Regions from separate parts of the Homo sapiens genome. Here region 2 is linked to region 1. Evidence: promoter capture Hi-C in 16 types of primary human blood cells and fetal thymus (Javierre and others, 2016). All regions are on one chromosome and are shown on one strand. The core of a region is centred on a gene start or on the middle of the fragment in contact, and the rest is flanking DNA. Distances in the headings are between cores, read along the strand shown. Region 1 holds the start of KIF26B-AS1 (KIF26B antisense RNA 1). Region 2 overlaps SMYD3 (SET and MYND domain containing 3).

What was found. The method cuts DNA at HindIII sites, captures the fragments that hold promoters and counts their contacts. A CHiCAGO score of 5 or more calls a contact.
Region 2: a contact is called between a fragment that was not itself captured here and the fragment with the promoter of KIF26B-AS1 in region 1, in 1 of 17 cell types (total B cells). The highest score is 5.4, in total B cells.

What each region holds. Positions count from the first base shown.
Region 1 is chr1:245,231,350-245,239,054 of GRCh38, forward strand. It overlaps KIF26B-AS1 (KIF26B antisense RNA 1), which reads right to left and starts at 3,168. Exons shown (of 5, transcript NR_151721.1): 1 at 3,038-3,168. The region is part of intron 2 of KIF26B (kinesin family member 26B); the gene reads left to right. RefSeq lists an enhancer at 3,193-3,712. The HindIII fragment of the contact is 7,889 bases long and covers 1-3,402 here.
Region 2 is chr1:246,057,675-246,065,379 of GRCh38, forward strand. All of the region lies in intron 5 of SMYD3 (SET and MYND domain containing 3), which reads right to left. Among named protein-coding and RNA genes, the nearest start is that of SMYD3-AS1, 47 kb to the right of the region's middle. RefSeq lists an enhancer at 5,819-6,345. The HindIII fragment of the contact is 2,117 bases long and covers 2,006-4,122 here.

The DNA of each region.
Region 1 (7,705 bases), core at 1,918-4,417:
ACTAAAAATACAAAAAATTAGCCGGGCGTGGTGGCAGGCACGTGTAATCCCAGCTACTTGGGAGGCTGAGGCAGGAGAATCGCTTGATCCCGGGAGGTGGAGGTTGCAGTGAGCCAAGTTCGTGCCACTGCGCTCTAGCCTGGGTGACAGAGCAAGACTTCGTCTAAAAGAAAAATAAATAAAACTAGAATCCAAGAATTCTTTATGGAAAAAAGAAGATGTGACTCTACATACTGAAAGTTTCTACATGCATCTGGGAAAATTGACCCAGCGTGATTAAATTCTAGATGTATCCTCATAAACTTTGTGGTTAAAGATGAGGGAGAAGGAGGAGGAGGAGGATAAGGAGGAAGAGGAGGAAGAAAACAAACCTCTGGGCCTCCAGTCAAAAATACCAAGTCACTTAAAAAGAAAAAAAAATTAGATTGGCATCAGCCTTATCAACAGCTACGTGCAAAGCAAGACAAGGATGGAACAATGTTTTCAAGAAAGGTAAGGACCATCTGAATCAAGAATTTTAAATCCAGCCCATCTGTCTTTCAAGTATCAAAGTTATCGAAAAAAAAGTTTTAATCCTACGAGAACTCAGGGACTACTGTCCTAACAACTCCTTCCTAAAGAATATGCCAGAGGGTTGTTACCATCAAACAGAGAGAAGACTAAGGAAATTTGTCAAAATAACTGGTGGTTTGAACAAAAGATGCAAAACTACTTTGAAAGAGGGCTTCATGTTTCAGAGATTAATCGGACGTATCCATCCATAAGATCCTTGCCAAGAAAGTTTGAATAATAAAACAATGGAGCTAGATTGCAATGTTTTCACCAAATCCAGAATCTCTGAAGAAATTAGGATATGGCTTTGGCAGCTCTAGACGCCAAATTTGTAAAGCAAGAGAAGGGAAAAAGTGCAAGTAATTAATGGAGCTTGGAAAAGACCTGAAGCAGGACAGTCAGGAGTAGATGAAAGGGTTTTCTAAGAAAAGAAGTAGAAATGTGGAATTTGGTAAATTTTATTGAGAAGGCACCCGAGTAGATTTAGGCTTGTAGTTCTTACAAACATTAAAAATGTTTTATTGTATTAAAGAGCTAATACTCCTTAATTATGACTTCATTATTTATGTTACAGAGAAGATCTAGATGCACTATTTACCTCCTTTTGTTCCTAACCTAGAAATGGTAGCAAATACATGTGGTTTCATTTGTTTTTTTTTTTTTTTTGAGATGGAGTTTTGCTCTTGTTGCGCAGGCAGGAGTACAGTGGTGCGATCTCAGCTCACCGCAACCTCTGCCTCCCAGGTTCAAGCGATTCTCCTGTCTTAGCCTCCCGAGTAGCTGGGATCACAGGCATGAGCCACCACTCCCGGCTAATTTTGTATTTTTAGTAGAGACGGGGTTTCTCCATGTTGGTCAGGCTGGTCTCGAACTCCCGACCTCAGGTGATCCACCCGCCTTGGCGTCCCAAACTGCTGGGATTAGAGGCATGAGCCATCGCACCCGGCGGTTTCCTTCCTTTCCTCCAAAGTCACGTTGCACATCAATATGTGATTTGGCAATGGTTCTCTTTTTCACTGAGCCCCAGTGAAGCCTCAGAATTCTACTCAACGTAGCACACGAGGCAGCCATTACTACTCTATCTGCATTTGTTGGAAGTTGAAATATATTTGCTATCCCTGCCCTAATTGTAGGGTCTGTAGCCTGATTACTTGGCATCTTCATCTCACTTGTGGAAACTAACGGGATTACAGACGCACTTTCTCAGCAAGCGTTCATTAGTCACTGAGTAAATGACAAACAATGTATGAGGCTCTGGGCATAATGAAATGATTAGGACACATTTCCATCCTCCAAGAGGCTCACAGGGCCCAGAAGGAAGTGAATGATTCTGTAGAATTTGCCTTGTGAATGTGTTACTCCTTAAGTTATATCGAACATTGCAGTGATCAAGAAATATTCTACTTTGTAGAAAGATCCTGGAATCACATAGACCCCAAGTTTTAGGCATGGCAAAACTTTATGCACAATTTCATATGTAAAGTGATTTTCTCTGTCCTCATCCTTAGTACCTTGCTACTCAAAGCGTGACCTGAGGACCAGTGGAAAGATATTACCTGGGTACTTGTTAGAAAATGCAGAATTCCAGTCCCATACCAGATCTCTTGAAACAGAATTCTCATTGTATGAAGATACCCAGGTGACTTGTATGTACATAAAGTGTGAGAAACACTGCAGACTCTTAGTGTCCAGCTAGAACAAGATTGATTTGCCACCTGCCACTTTTCTTTCTCCCTACACACACTTAAAAAAAAATCTCTTAACTAACCACAGACACATATTCCAAATCTCATGTTCTCTCTGTCATAATTTTCTTATTTGTAAACTTAACATGGGAACACTATTAGTACCTGTCCTGTCTGATGAGAGTGAGCATTTGCTGAGATCATGCATCTGTGGTGTTCAGTAGAGTGCCCAGCTTCATAAATACATGTTATTTGTGAATGATATACATGATACTAGTTTAATGGAAAATTGGGACTTAGAAATAATGTTTCGGGCTGGGCGCGGTGGCTCACACCTGTAATCCCAGCAATTTGGGAGGCTGAGGCGGGCAGATCACCTGAGGTCAGGAGTTTGAGACTCCAGCCTGGCCAACGTGGTAAAACCCTGTCTCTACTAAAAATACAAAAATTAGCTGGGCATGGTGGCGGGCACCTGTAATCCCAGCTGCTCAGGGGGCTGAGGCAGGAGAATTGCTTGAACCTAGGAGGTGGAGGTTGCAGTGAGCCAAGATCGCGCCACTGCACTTCAGCCTGGCCTTTAGAACGAGACTCCCTCTTAAAAAAAAAAAGAAAGAAAAGAAAAAAGAAATTTCAACACCGTAGCCTGTTCCCAGTGGAGGAAATTCTGAACTTTCTCGTTGTTGGAACTTTGTTTGATACCTCTAAGTAAATACCCAATAAAATGGTATCTAACGCCCCCCTGCCGGGCTGGGTGGTACCCACACTTGTACCTCGCACTCACACTCACACACGTCACACACCTGTCAGGGGGCACAGCCCCAGGTGAGCCTGAGTGCTGTGCTTGCCTCGTGGGGTGCTCCATGGAGATGGGTCTCCCAGGCCTCAGGGCTTCCTGGGTGCACCTCCCGTTTCTGCGTGCAGGGAGGGATGGCTACAGGACTGGGCGGGAGAACTTTCCCAGTGTGGTGAGGCGTGCTGGTGAGACAGCAGTGTTTCCTGGGTTACATGTGGGCAGGACTGGGTTGGAGATGGGCCCGCAATTTGGCCTCCTGACTTGGGGTGCTCCAGTCTGCAGGTGGAAGTTCTTCCCGGCGGCTTGCAAAGAAGAAAAGCGAGGAGAAGGGCACTGATTTATTCAGCAGGGCATTTCCTTGGTTTGGCTGAAAGCTTTTGACTTGCGTGAGCTCAGCAGGGGAGCGCCGTTTCCAGGCCTCGCAACACCGGCCTGCTATTAAGTGTTTCTAAGAGAATAAAAGCCTGTTGTGTTAAAAGGACTTGCCCTCCGCCAGCAGCAGTGGGCCCATTAGCCAATCCGTTGGACACCCGGTGGCACACAGGCTGGCTCTGCAGGAGGTCCTCCTGGCCTCCTGCCCCTGTGTCTTTCAGAAGGCAGAGTCCGTGGGAGAGATCTGCTTCCCCATCCTCCTGCCTGGTGGAGCTGAGAGTGTCAACTGACACTGTCCCTTCGGCCTCCTCCTCTGTCCCTACTGCGCTGGGTTGAGTTGCCTGTGGAGGGGCTCCGCTTCCCTTCCTTTGTGGAGCTGATGTGTTCAGGAAAATATTCGAATATGTTAGATTTGTATAAACTAGGTCATTACTCTCTTGCTTTAAGGTTATACTTCAAAGGCCATAGTTAATTAAAGGTAGGTGTCCTTTGTCATTCAAAGTGAACATTTGTGTCAGTTCAATAATATTTGCTTTTAAATTTCCGTTAAGACATACGGGTTGGGTGTGGTGGCTCATGCTTGTAATTCCAGTGCTTTGAGAGGCTGAGGCAGGAGGATGGCTCGAGGCCAGGAGTTCCAGACCAGTCTCGGCAACATAGCAAGATCCTTTCCTTAAAAAAAAAAAGAAAAATTAGCCAGGCATGGTGGCATTCACCTTTAATTCTAGCTACTCAGGAGGCAGAGGTGGGGGGATCGCTTGAGCCTAAGAGTTTGAGGTTGCAATGAGCTATGATCACGCCACTGCACTCGAGCTTGGGTGACAGAGACTCTGGAAACAAAGAAAAGAAAAGAAAGGGAGAGACGGAGGGAGAGAGGCAGGGAGGAAGGAAGGGTTCAGAATATAGAAAGAGGGAAGGAAAGGAGGGAGGGAGGAAGGGAATAAGGGTTCAGAATATAGATAGAAAGGAAAAGTCCACAGAAAACTGGAGTAAAGTCTGAAGCTCCTGAAATAATAGTCAGTGTGCTAAGCAGGAACAGTGTGTACAATTTTAAGACATGAGAGTGAAATACCGGGTTTGTCATTTGCATAAGTTTTTGAGTAGTTAGAATAAACAGTGCTTATCGCCTTCCCAAAACACCCCACCACTATAAGCTGCTTGTACACACTGCATCACTTATTTTTTTTTTTTTTTTTGAGACAGAGTCTCGCTCTGTCACCCAGGCTGGAGGGCAGTGGCACCATCTTGGCTCACTGCAACCTCCACCTCCTGGGGTCAAGTGATTCTCCTGCCCCAGCTTCCCGAGTAGCTGGGACTACAGGTGTGCGCCACCATGCCTGGCTAATTTTTCTATTTTTAGTCGAGACGGGGTTTCACCATGCTGGTCAGGCTGGTCTCGAACTCCTGACCTTGTAGTCTGCCTGCTTCGGCCTCCCAAAATGTTGGGATTACAGGCGTGAGTGAGCCTCTGGCATCACTTATGTTTTAATGACCAAGGTGTATACAGGTAAGAAAGTTAAGCATGTAAGTGCCAAGTTCATGTCTTGGTTCTATCATTTACCAGCCATGGGCTTTGGGCAAGTTAGTTTTAACCTCATTCAGCCTCAACGTCTTCAACTCTAAAATGGGAATAAATGTTGCCTCCATCATAGATTTATTGTGAAAGTTAAAGGATATTGCGTATAAAATGGCTTAGCATAGTTCCTGGGACGTAATTGACAATCAATATTATAATTATTAATATGTGAACTATAGGATTTTTATTATTTAAAAGAACCTTTAAGTGAATTTCTTATAAACCTATAATGTTAGCAATGCTATGAATAAAATTTGTTTTATAAGGTTGAAGTTTGGTATGTTGTATTTTCTTGAAGCAAATTTTATAATGCATGCGACTTGATTTTTCCTTGTCCTTTCCTATTTTTGGTAAGAATGTCTAAACCTGAAAACAATGGAGTGTAGAAATAAAAATACATGATGCGGAATCTGAGAATGCCAATGCTAGGGGAAAGGAATACTGAGTGTGTGTGGCCGTGAGCCCCGTGGGGGCTGGGATTTGCTCGCTGCTGTATCCCCAGGGCAGAACACCATGGGTGGCATGCAGTAGGTGCCTAATCAGTGTGTGTTGCTTGAATAAATGAATGAGACCACATAGCCCAACACCTTCATTTTGTAGATGGAAACATAAGGCACAGAGAAGTAAAGTGACTTGTCTGAAATTACTTAAGGCCGATCTGGGACTGAGTCTCTGGTCCGTGTGATCACAAATGCTTCTAAGGCTCACAACGTAGCAGAATTTGTCTGCAATGAAGATCGTGGTGTCTTCAGCAGCACACTGGCTGGCTGGTTATCTCTCTTTCTTCCTCTGTCCTCTGCTCCCTCTTTCTACTTCTTCCCTTCTTTCTTCCTCCCATTCTTGCCCATTGCCCCTGGTGGCGTGTCCTTTGCTAAATGAGGGCTAGACAGATGTAACTTACAGCTCTGTCTCATACCACGCAACTCTAAAGTCCATCCTTAGACTACGACTTAGAGCAGATGTGAATGTTTAACCTCCCTTCTCTCTGGACATATGGCATCATCTTATTTCTCTGTTAGCTGGTCTGCCCTCCTGCCACCCATTTCAAGGCACTGTTGGCTCCTGGAAGCCATCTGGATGGAGTTTTTGTAACGGGAAAGTGCTCCTCCAGCACCCAGGAAGCCTTGGGTGGGTGATGGTCCCTGTGATCACCCAGCCGTGGTAAGGCCTGCTTCCCTTGCTTAGCAAAACCGTACCCTGGTGGATGGTGATGCTGCAGCCGGGGCCCAGGGGGTCTATGAGCATCATGGCAAAAAAGCCTTTATGGGAGCTCCCAGTTTACTACTTTCAGCCTTTCGGAAACACACACATTTCCTTCCATTCTTTACTGGCAACACTGTCTTTTGTACAGACTGTATTTGTTTGGATTAATACAGGGAGTCTGCAAATTTTTGTTCAAATAAGAATATTGTAGCTGGGTGCAGTGTTCCACACCTGTAATCCCAGCACTTTGGGAGGCCAAGGCGTGAAGGTTGCTTGAGCTCAGGAGTTCAGAGCCAGCCTGGGCAACATAGTGAGACCTCATCTCTGCTAAGTAAATAAGTAAAAATTAATCAGGCGTGGTGACATGTGCCTGTGGTCCCAGCTACTTGGGAGGCTGAGATGGGAGGATCACTTGAGCCCCGGAGGTCGAGGCTGTGGTGAGCCATGATTGCACTACTGCACTCCAACCTGGGCAACAGAGCAAGACCCTGTCTCAAAAAAAAAAAAAAAGTTGTTATTTGGCCAGGCATGCTGGCTCATGCCCGTAATCCCAGCACTTTGGGAGGCCAAGGCAGGCAGATCACCTGAGGTCAGGAGTTCAAGACCAGACTGACCAACATGGTGAGACCCCATCTCTACTAAAAAAAATACAAAAATTAGCTGGGCATGGTGGCAGGCACATGTAATCCCAACTACTCAGGAGGCTGAGGCACAAGAATCACTTGAACCCAAGAGGCAGAGGTTGCAGTGAGCCGAGATCGCACCACTGTGCTCCAGCCTGCGTGACAGAAACTTCATCTCATCTAAAAAAAAGAATATTGTCATTTGAGAATCACAAAACTCTGATCTTTTTAAACATAGGAGAGTGATATAGAGCAGTGCTTCTCAAACTGTATTTGATGAAGGACCAGTTTTCAAATTTTCCATATCGTGTTGCAGATCAACCTATCCATCAAAGACAATAAAAATGAATAGAAAAATGGAAAAAAATCCCAAACCCAAAAGACATTAAAAAGTCCTCAATTTTTTTTATTACTCAGAACAATTGGGCTGGGCATGGTGGCTCACACCTGTAATCCCAGCACTTTGGGAGGCAGAGACGGGTGGATCACTTGAGGTCAGGAGTTTGAGACCAGCCTGCCCAACATGGCAAAACCCCATCTCTACTAAAAATACAAAAATTTAGCTGGGTGTAGTGGCAGGCGCCTGTAATCTCAGCTACTCGGGAGGCTGAGGCAGGAGAATTGCTTGAACCTGGGAGGCGGAGGTTGCAGTGAGCTGAGTTGGTGCCACTGCACTCCAGCCTGGGTGACAAGAGCAAAACTGTCTCAAAAAACAAAACAAAACAAAAAAACCCCAATTGATCTAAAATTATACATATTGCTGCAAAAAATTCTAAATGCTTAGTCTCAATTTCTACACTTCCTTCTGGGTGTTGGTAGCAAACTCTCTGTAGACCCGACTTTGAGGAGCTCTTGATATGGAGACGTGGTTTCTTACGTCTAATTTCGTTTTCCACCATCT
Region 2 (7,705 bases), core at 1,814-4,313, 830 kb after region 1:
CTTGGGAAGACAGTTTGGCAATTTCTTACAGAACTAAACATACTCATCACACAATCCAGAAATCTTACTCCTTGTTATTTACCCAAAGGAGTTAAAAACTTATGTCCACACAAAAATCTGCATGTGGATACTGACAGCAGCTTTATTCATAACTCCCCAAACTTGGAAGTAACCCAGATGGCCTTCAGAAGGTGAATGGATAATCAAATTGTTGCACATCCAGACAATGGACAATTATTTAGCACTAAAAGTAAGTGATGTTATCAAGCCATGAAAAGGCACGGAGCAATCTTAAATGCATACTACTAAGCGAAAGAAGGCAGTGTGAAAAGGCTGTATGATCCCGATTATATAGCATTCTGGAAAAGATAAAGCTATGGAAACGGTAAAAAGATCAGCGGTTGCCAGGGATGAGAGTTGAGAGAGAGATGAACAGGTGAGGCACAGAGCACCTCTGTATAATGCCATAAAGGTAAATACATATCAGTATTCATCTGTCCAAACACGGAATGTACAACACCAAGAGTGAACGCTAACAGAAGCTGAACTTTGGTGATAATGAAGAGTCCATGGAGGTTCATCAGCTGTCACAAATGTCCCACTCTGGTAGAGGATGCTGAGAATGAGGGAGGCTGTGTGTTTTGTGTTGGAGGTGGGGGAGGAGGGCAGGAGGGATATGAGAAAACTCTGTACCTTCCTCTCAATTATGCTGTGAACCTAAATTTGCTCTTCAAAAATCATCTTTTTAAAAAACATGTATGGTGGAAACTATGAATGATGAAAGAAAACCCCATTCAGTAACCTGAAGCAGCACGTTATCTTACGAAATAATAAATGATTCATTTATCTTTGGCAGAATCGGGTCATTTTCCTGCCTTTCTCTTTCTAGGGAAATAAAAATTTTACACTTTCTCAAACATTTGGAAGATTGTCTTTCAAAAGCCAGTACAAGGAAGCTTGAGGAAAGCTTTTTATAGCCAAGTATAACAGCTGGCAGTCTAGAAGCCATATACAACATTTTGCTGTTCTACAGAACTTATAGCAGCTCACAAAAGCAAAACCATTTTTATTGAGGAAACAATAAAAATTGTTGGAAATTTTCAAAATTAAATAGTATAGAAGGACTTTTATTGTAATAAAAGTAATCTATAGATAATGTTTCTCATAGTTAACAAAGGTGCCCATTTACCTACTCAAATCCACATTTCTTTTTTTTTTTTTTGAGACGGAGTCTCTGTCGCCCAGGCTGGAGTGCAGTGGCATGATCTCCGCTCACTGCCAGCTCCGCCTCCCGGGTTCACACCATTCTCCTGCCTCAGCCTCCCGAGTAGCTGGAACTGCAGGCGTCCGCCACCATGCCCGGCTAAATTTTTTTGTATTTTTAGTAGAGACAGGGTTTCACCGTGTTAGCCAGGATGGTCTCAATCTCCTGACCTTGTGATCCGCCTGCCTCGGCCTCCCAAAGTGCTGGGATTAAAGGCGTGAGCCACCGCACCCGGCCCACAACTCCACATTTCTAATGGACTGCAAATTCACCAGCGGTAAAAGTAAACGAGGGAGGCAATAGATCCTTTGGGTCTGATGTTACAGCCAACTCAAGTGGCAGGCTTTTGCTAGATTTTCTAAGCCAGCAGAGGCAGGGATAATAAAACACATTTACCTAGAGAAAAAAAAAAATCAAATTAAGATGACTTTAAGTATTCTATACTAACAGAAGAACTATTAAAAGTAGTTAAATCCATTGTTCTGAAAAACTGAACAGAGATATGACCAACTGGAGGTGTTTTGTCTCTCTCGACTCCACTGGCACTAGGACCTTTTTCTCCTATTTTATTATCAAGCATGGTGAGCCAGCCATTGCCATGCCCAAGTGCTGCATATCTTGTGAGTCTAAACTGAAAACAACATATCTCAGACGTTATCTTAGACTTGAGGCTGAGGAACAGATGGATTTAAGAAAAAAAACCATTCCTTTCCTTTTAAAAGGTCTTAAAAACTTTTGAGAAGCTTCAGGAAAAAGGCAAGTAAGATACGATTATTTTGTGGCATAATAAGATTTCATTTTCTGAAACTCAATCAGGAGAACTAATGAAGAAGAAATGTGCCCCTTGCTTGTGGAAGCCAGCTTAAACTGGTAAGAGCCCAATCACTCACAGTATTTGTTAAGCAAAATCCATTTATGTTGGAACAGTAGGCATTTAAGCATTAATATGAAAGTTAAAATAGAGAAGACAGTACAGAATACTTAAGTTACAATTTCAAATTCGACAGTGTTGACAGAGCTACTCCAGAGACCACTAAATATATTGCTTTAAAAAAAAAAGTTGGCGGGGCATAATGGCTCACACCTGTAATAATCCCAGCATATTAGGAGGCCGAAGTGGAAGGATCACTTGAGCTCAGACTCAGGATAGACCAGCCTGGGCAACATTACAAGACCTTGTCTCTACTAAAAGAAAAAAACTTAGCCAGGCATGGTGGCACACATCTGTAGTCCCAGCTACTTAGGAGGCTGAGATGGGAGGATGGCTTGAGCTCAAGAAGTTGAGGCTACAGTGAGCCACGATTATGCCACTGCACTCCAGCCTGGGCAACAGAGCGAGACTGTCTCAAAAAATAAAAATAAAGGTTGCGTTTTTTTTTTTAAACATTATATATCTGAGAAGATCTCCATATATAAATATTTCATTTTAAACAGCTAATTGAAAAGTTCCATACATTTATATGTGAGAACATTTCATAAGGTTTTACCTTATCCTAATCATATCTTAACTCTAAATATTCCGTTTAACGACAAAAATGGCATAACATTCCCAAAGCAGCAAAATGTCTTTCTTGATTTCTGAAGATAAAAAAGGAAAAAAATAGAAAAAGCAGAAAAGCAATAAACTGTTATTCATTTTAATAAATTTTTATGATCCCTCAGTCATTACTAAATTGGATCATATGATAATTTCTCCTTTGGTTATCATTTTTATTGACAAGTTTTCAGCTGTTTTTTCTTCATTTGCAAAATGAGTCCTAGATCTCATGTCTGGCATAATCACTCAGCTCCCATAAAGAAAGACATCCAGGACCCACTTTATCTTCATGTTACTTTTCTAAGCCAGCCCATCAAAAGTCTGAGGAGACAGTCACTCTTACTGCTACTGACAATACCAACTGGTTTAGTGTACACTAACTGGCTGACTACACACATCTATTCCTTTTCATTCCTAACAGAATGCTGATTTTATTCACATATTCATTCTCATTAGAAATAAATGTTTTAGGCCAGGCATGGTGGCTCACGCCTCTAATCTCAGCACTTTGGGAGGCCGAGGCGGGCGGATCATGAGGTCAGGGGTTTGAGACCAGCCTGGCCAACCTGGTGAAACCCCAGCTCTACAAGTACAAAAATTAGCCAGGCGTGCTGGCAGGCACCCATAATCCCAGCTACTCGGGAGGCTGAGGCAGGAGAACGGCATGAACCCAGGAGGCGGAGCTTGCAGTGAGTCGAGATGGCACCACTGCACTCCAGCCTGGGTGACAGAGCAAGACTCCGTCACACGCACACACACAAAAAAGAAATGTCTCAAGTGCTTAAATTCTTGTAAAAATAACTGCAAAAAGATATATGAGTAAGGACTGGTAGGTACCATATGACTATTTCAGCAAACACATATCACCTGGAAAAAATGTGCTGATAGAGTTTCTTTAGGATCAAATGCGTGGTAGGGAAATCCACATCAAGTCCAATAAAATGGTAAAAGAAAAAAAGAAAAAGCCAGGCACAGAGACTCGTGCCTATAATCTCAGCACTTTGGGAGGCTGAGGTGGGAGGATCACTTGAACACAATTCAAGACCAGCCTGGGCAACACAGCAAGACGCCATCTCTACTTAAAAAAAAAAAAAGAAAAGAAAAATTAGCTAGTCATGGTAGTGCATGCCTGTAGTTCCAGCTACTCAGGAGGCTGAACTGGGAGGATCGCTTGAGCGAGGCTGAGGCTGCTGTGAGCCACGATCACATGACTGCACCCAGCCTGGGCGACAGAGTGAGACCCTGTCTCAAAAATAAAATAATTTTAAAAGTTAAAGCTAACAAAATATACACAAAAACCCAGAAACAGTGATGTGAAAGAAGCTTTTGATTCGTTAGTGATGAAATGAGAGCTGCCTTGATAGACCGGCACTATTACAAAGACGTGCATTGCCTGATCAAGAGGTGGTGCTTCTCAGAGTTTCTAAACCAAAGATTGAATTCTTATTTTTCTTCATGGAGGGAAAAAAGGCCACAACGTTACAATATAAAAATCTGAAAAAGGGAAGTGAATTGATTTTTCATCTAACTTAATAAAATGACTTATTTGGCTGATATTTCCTTAGGATCTCAACAACCTCAAGCCAAAACTTCATAGTTTTTCAGGGCAGCACAAACGAATCCCACAGGTTAAATGAAGAGCTGCTCATTAGGACTGAGAATCAGGAAAGAGCCTTAGTTCATCCACATGTGATTCATTCACATCATTGACTTAAAGATCGTCACCATTCATTGTTCCTGAGTGGGGAGAAAAAAATCCACAGAATATTTCCCCGAGATCATAAAGAGGTTAGTCACTGATTTGGGGATCTTTATAGTCTACCATTTGACAATGACTTGGCCTTTCTGCGAGAAAAAACATCCATCAGGAGTACCACTGAAAATGTGCTGAATTTAGAGCACCTCTCCACAGTGACTGCAATTACAGAACTCCTAAATCACTGAAAACACTCTGAATCTTGGTTTTAAACATCTTGTGACACCAGAAGAGGACAAAAATTGTCCTAGTGATGATGAACCTAATATGTGGTGTGTCTGTTTTGGATTACAATTTTCCCAATTACAAATGCTAGTCATTTGGACCACTAACCCAAGAATGCCTTGGTTAATTTCTCAAGGACAAAATGTTTACATATTGATATATTTTAACATTTCATTTTTGAAATGAATGCTATTTTATTTTTCAAAGGCAGATGATGTCTTACCTACCCAGTGTATTTATAACCCCTTTGAACACTTGACCCATATTCCTAAGCATCCTTATGGCACTTAAAATGCCTAACCAGTTCCAAATGTTCAATAACGTTTCAGCAAATGCTTGCTGAATGAATTAATTAATGAGCGAAGGTATGTTGAAAAAAATTAGATTTTCCTGGTAACTTAATTTTGAAATAGAAAACATATAATAATAAATGCTAGCTCAAAATAACCCTAGTAAAGCAATATAAGTGACTACCTTGGAAAACTTACAGCAGAATGCATCACTGCTCCCACTCCCAAACCTGCTACCACTTTTGCGTTCTTTATGCTATGAGAGGTACCACTACATCCACAGCTGACTGCATCAGGAAGAGCCCAAGACCACCTTCAGTTTCAGTTATCTACTAGGCAGACTCTCAGGGCTCGGCACACAGTCGTACTCACAGCTGCAGTTTATTACAGGGAAACAACACCAAGCGAAGTCAGCAAGGGGAAAGGCACATGGGGAGAAGTCTGTGGAAACAGAGTGGGAGCCTCCAAGGGCCTTCCCCCAGGGAGTCACAAGGGAGGCACTTCACTCCTCCTACAAAAAGCTGTGATAACGTGAGAAATGTCCCAGTCAGGGAAACCCATTAGAGACTCAGTACCCAGGGTCTTTATTGGAGTTCAATCGCCTGTAGGCAGCCTCTAATTTTGGACTCCTGGAAGGACAGCAGGGGATCAGCATAAACCATAATGTTGACACAAACAGTTTAGGCACTGTCAGCCACTCTTACCAGATAAGGGGGAAACACTTGCTGAAATCTCAGTTGCTAAATGTCAGCCAAGGGCCAAACTTGTGGGCCTGCCCTTCCTTCCTTTCCTCCTTCCTTCCCTTCCTTCCCTTCCTTCCTTCCCTCCCTCACTCCCATTCCCTCCCCTCCCCTCCTCTCCCCTCCCTCTCCTTCCCTTCCTCCCTCTCTCCCTCCCTTTCTCTCTCTCTCTCTTAACAGTCTTCCTCTGCTGCCCAGACTAGAGTGCAGTGGTATGGTATCAGCTCACTGCAAGTTCCACCTCCCAGGTTCAAGCAATTCTCCTGCCTCAGCCTCCCGAGTAGCTGGGATTACAGGCGCATGCCACCATGCCTGGCTAATTTTTGCATTTTTAGTAGAGACAGGGTTTTGCTATGTTCCCTACGCCAGTCTCGAACTCCTGACTTCAAGTGATCCACCCGCTTCAACCTCCCAAAGTGCTGGGATTAGAGGCGTAAGCCACCACGCCCAGCCCAGGTCTTTTCAAGGATAAGCAGTTTAGGCCTGCTAGGTTAACTCTTTTCTGCACAGCGACTAGGCCAGAAACCAAGAAATAATCCCAATTCCTACTTCTTCACTGTCCCTCATCTCTTCTAGGCCAAATCCTGTCAATTTTGCTCCTGAGTAACTTCCCTGTACTCCCTTCTTCCTGTCCTCACTATCGGGCTTTAATGGAGGCCTCTGTTCTCTCTTGCTCGCATCACTGCCGGAACTCCTACCTTGTCTCCTGCCTATCCTTCCATCCATTCTCCACAGGCTCTTTGCCGGGAAGGCTGCCCACTGCCCTCAACCTCCCGAGCATAGTGGAAAACAGGGCCTTTTTCTGATGTGCCCAAGTTTTCTCTCTAATTTCTCAACACTTTCTCCCTTTTGTACTCTCTGTTCTAGTCAAACTGAACTATTAAATGCAGTTCTCAGAAAGCATGGCACTTTCTTACCTTTGTCACTTTGTTCTGGCTACTTGTCCTCTACCTAGAATGCATTTCCACTTTTGCCTGGGTTAAGAAGTATGTAGGCTTTAGAAGTCAGCTGAGGCACCAACACAAATCTTCCCCAGATATCCCCGTCTCCCAGTCTAATACCTCATGCCTACTCCCCTCCACGGCATTTATCCCACTGCACTGCAATTTCAGTCTATTTTATTGATCTATCCCCTATACTGTGTGTCCTTAAAGGTGGGACTGCGTATCCCCAGTGTCTAGCATGGTCACTGACAAATTGTTCATGTCCAATAAATACTTCTTGACTGAATAAATGTCACAACTTCAGCAGGGTTCCCCTGAGGTCAGCTCCATCCCCCGGCCTTCTAGACCGGACTGAACTTAGACGATTTTGGCACAGACACTGGGAACCGTGCATCGTTCATGTTATCCTCTTTGCATTGGCTTTGTTCAAAAGCTAACAGCCAAATATGTGGTGGTCTTCCTGTGACCGTGTAGGTCTGCAGAGCCTATAATCTGTATACTAATTACACTTTTGGTTTCGACTTACCTTCCCCAACCTCTTACTCTGATTACTTCACTTACACTTTATTTGTATCTTTGTGTGTGTGCATGGTTTTTTCCAAAGCTGAAATTCCTTCTGGACTAAAGCAGGATATAAATAGATATGTATATAGTCCCAAAGAGATGAGAACACTGTCCCATTGTTTAGAGGAGGTGAAACCTCAGTTTTTCTCAGTATCCCATTCCTAGCTAAATCCAAAGTCTCCTAAAGCACAACTTACAAAAAGAGCTATTTTCCTCCTAGTTCTTCAGCTCAACTTCATGCAATGAAGTTACTCTAAATAAAGGAATGCATACGTGCACCCATATTTTCTTCACAAGACTTAGGAGCAAGACTCAAAAAAGTGAGGACAGATGCGCGCCTTACTTTATCCAGTCAATGTGCTGCTGAAAAACTGGGTAAAATGAG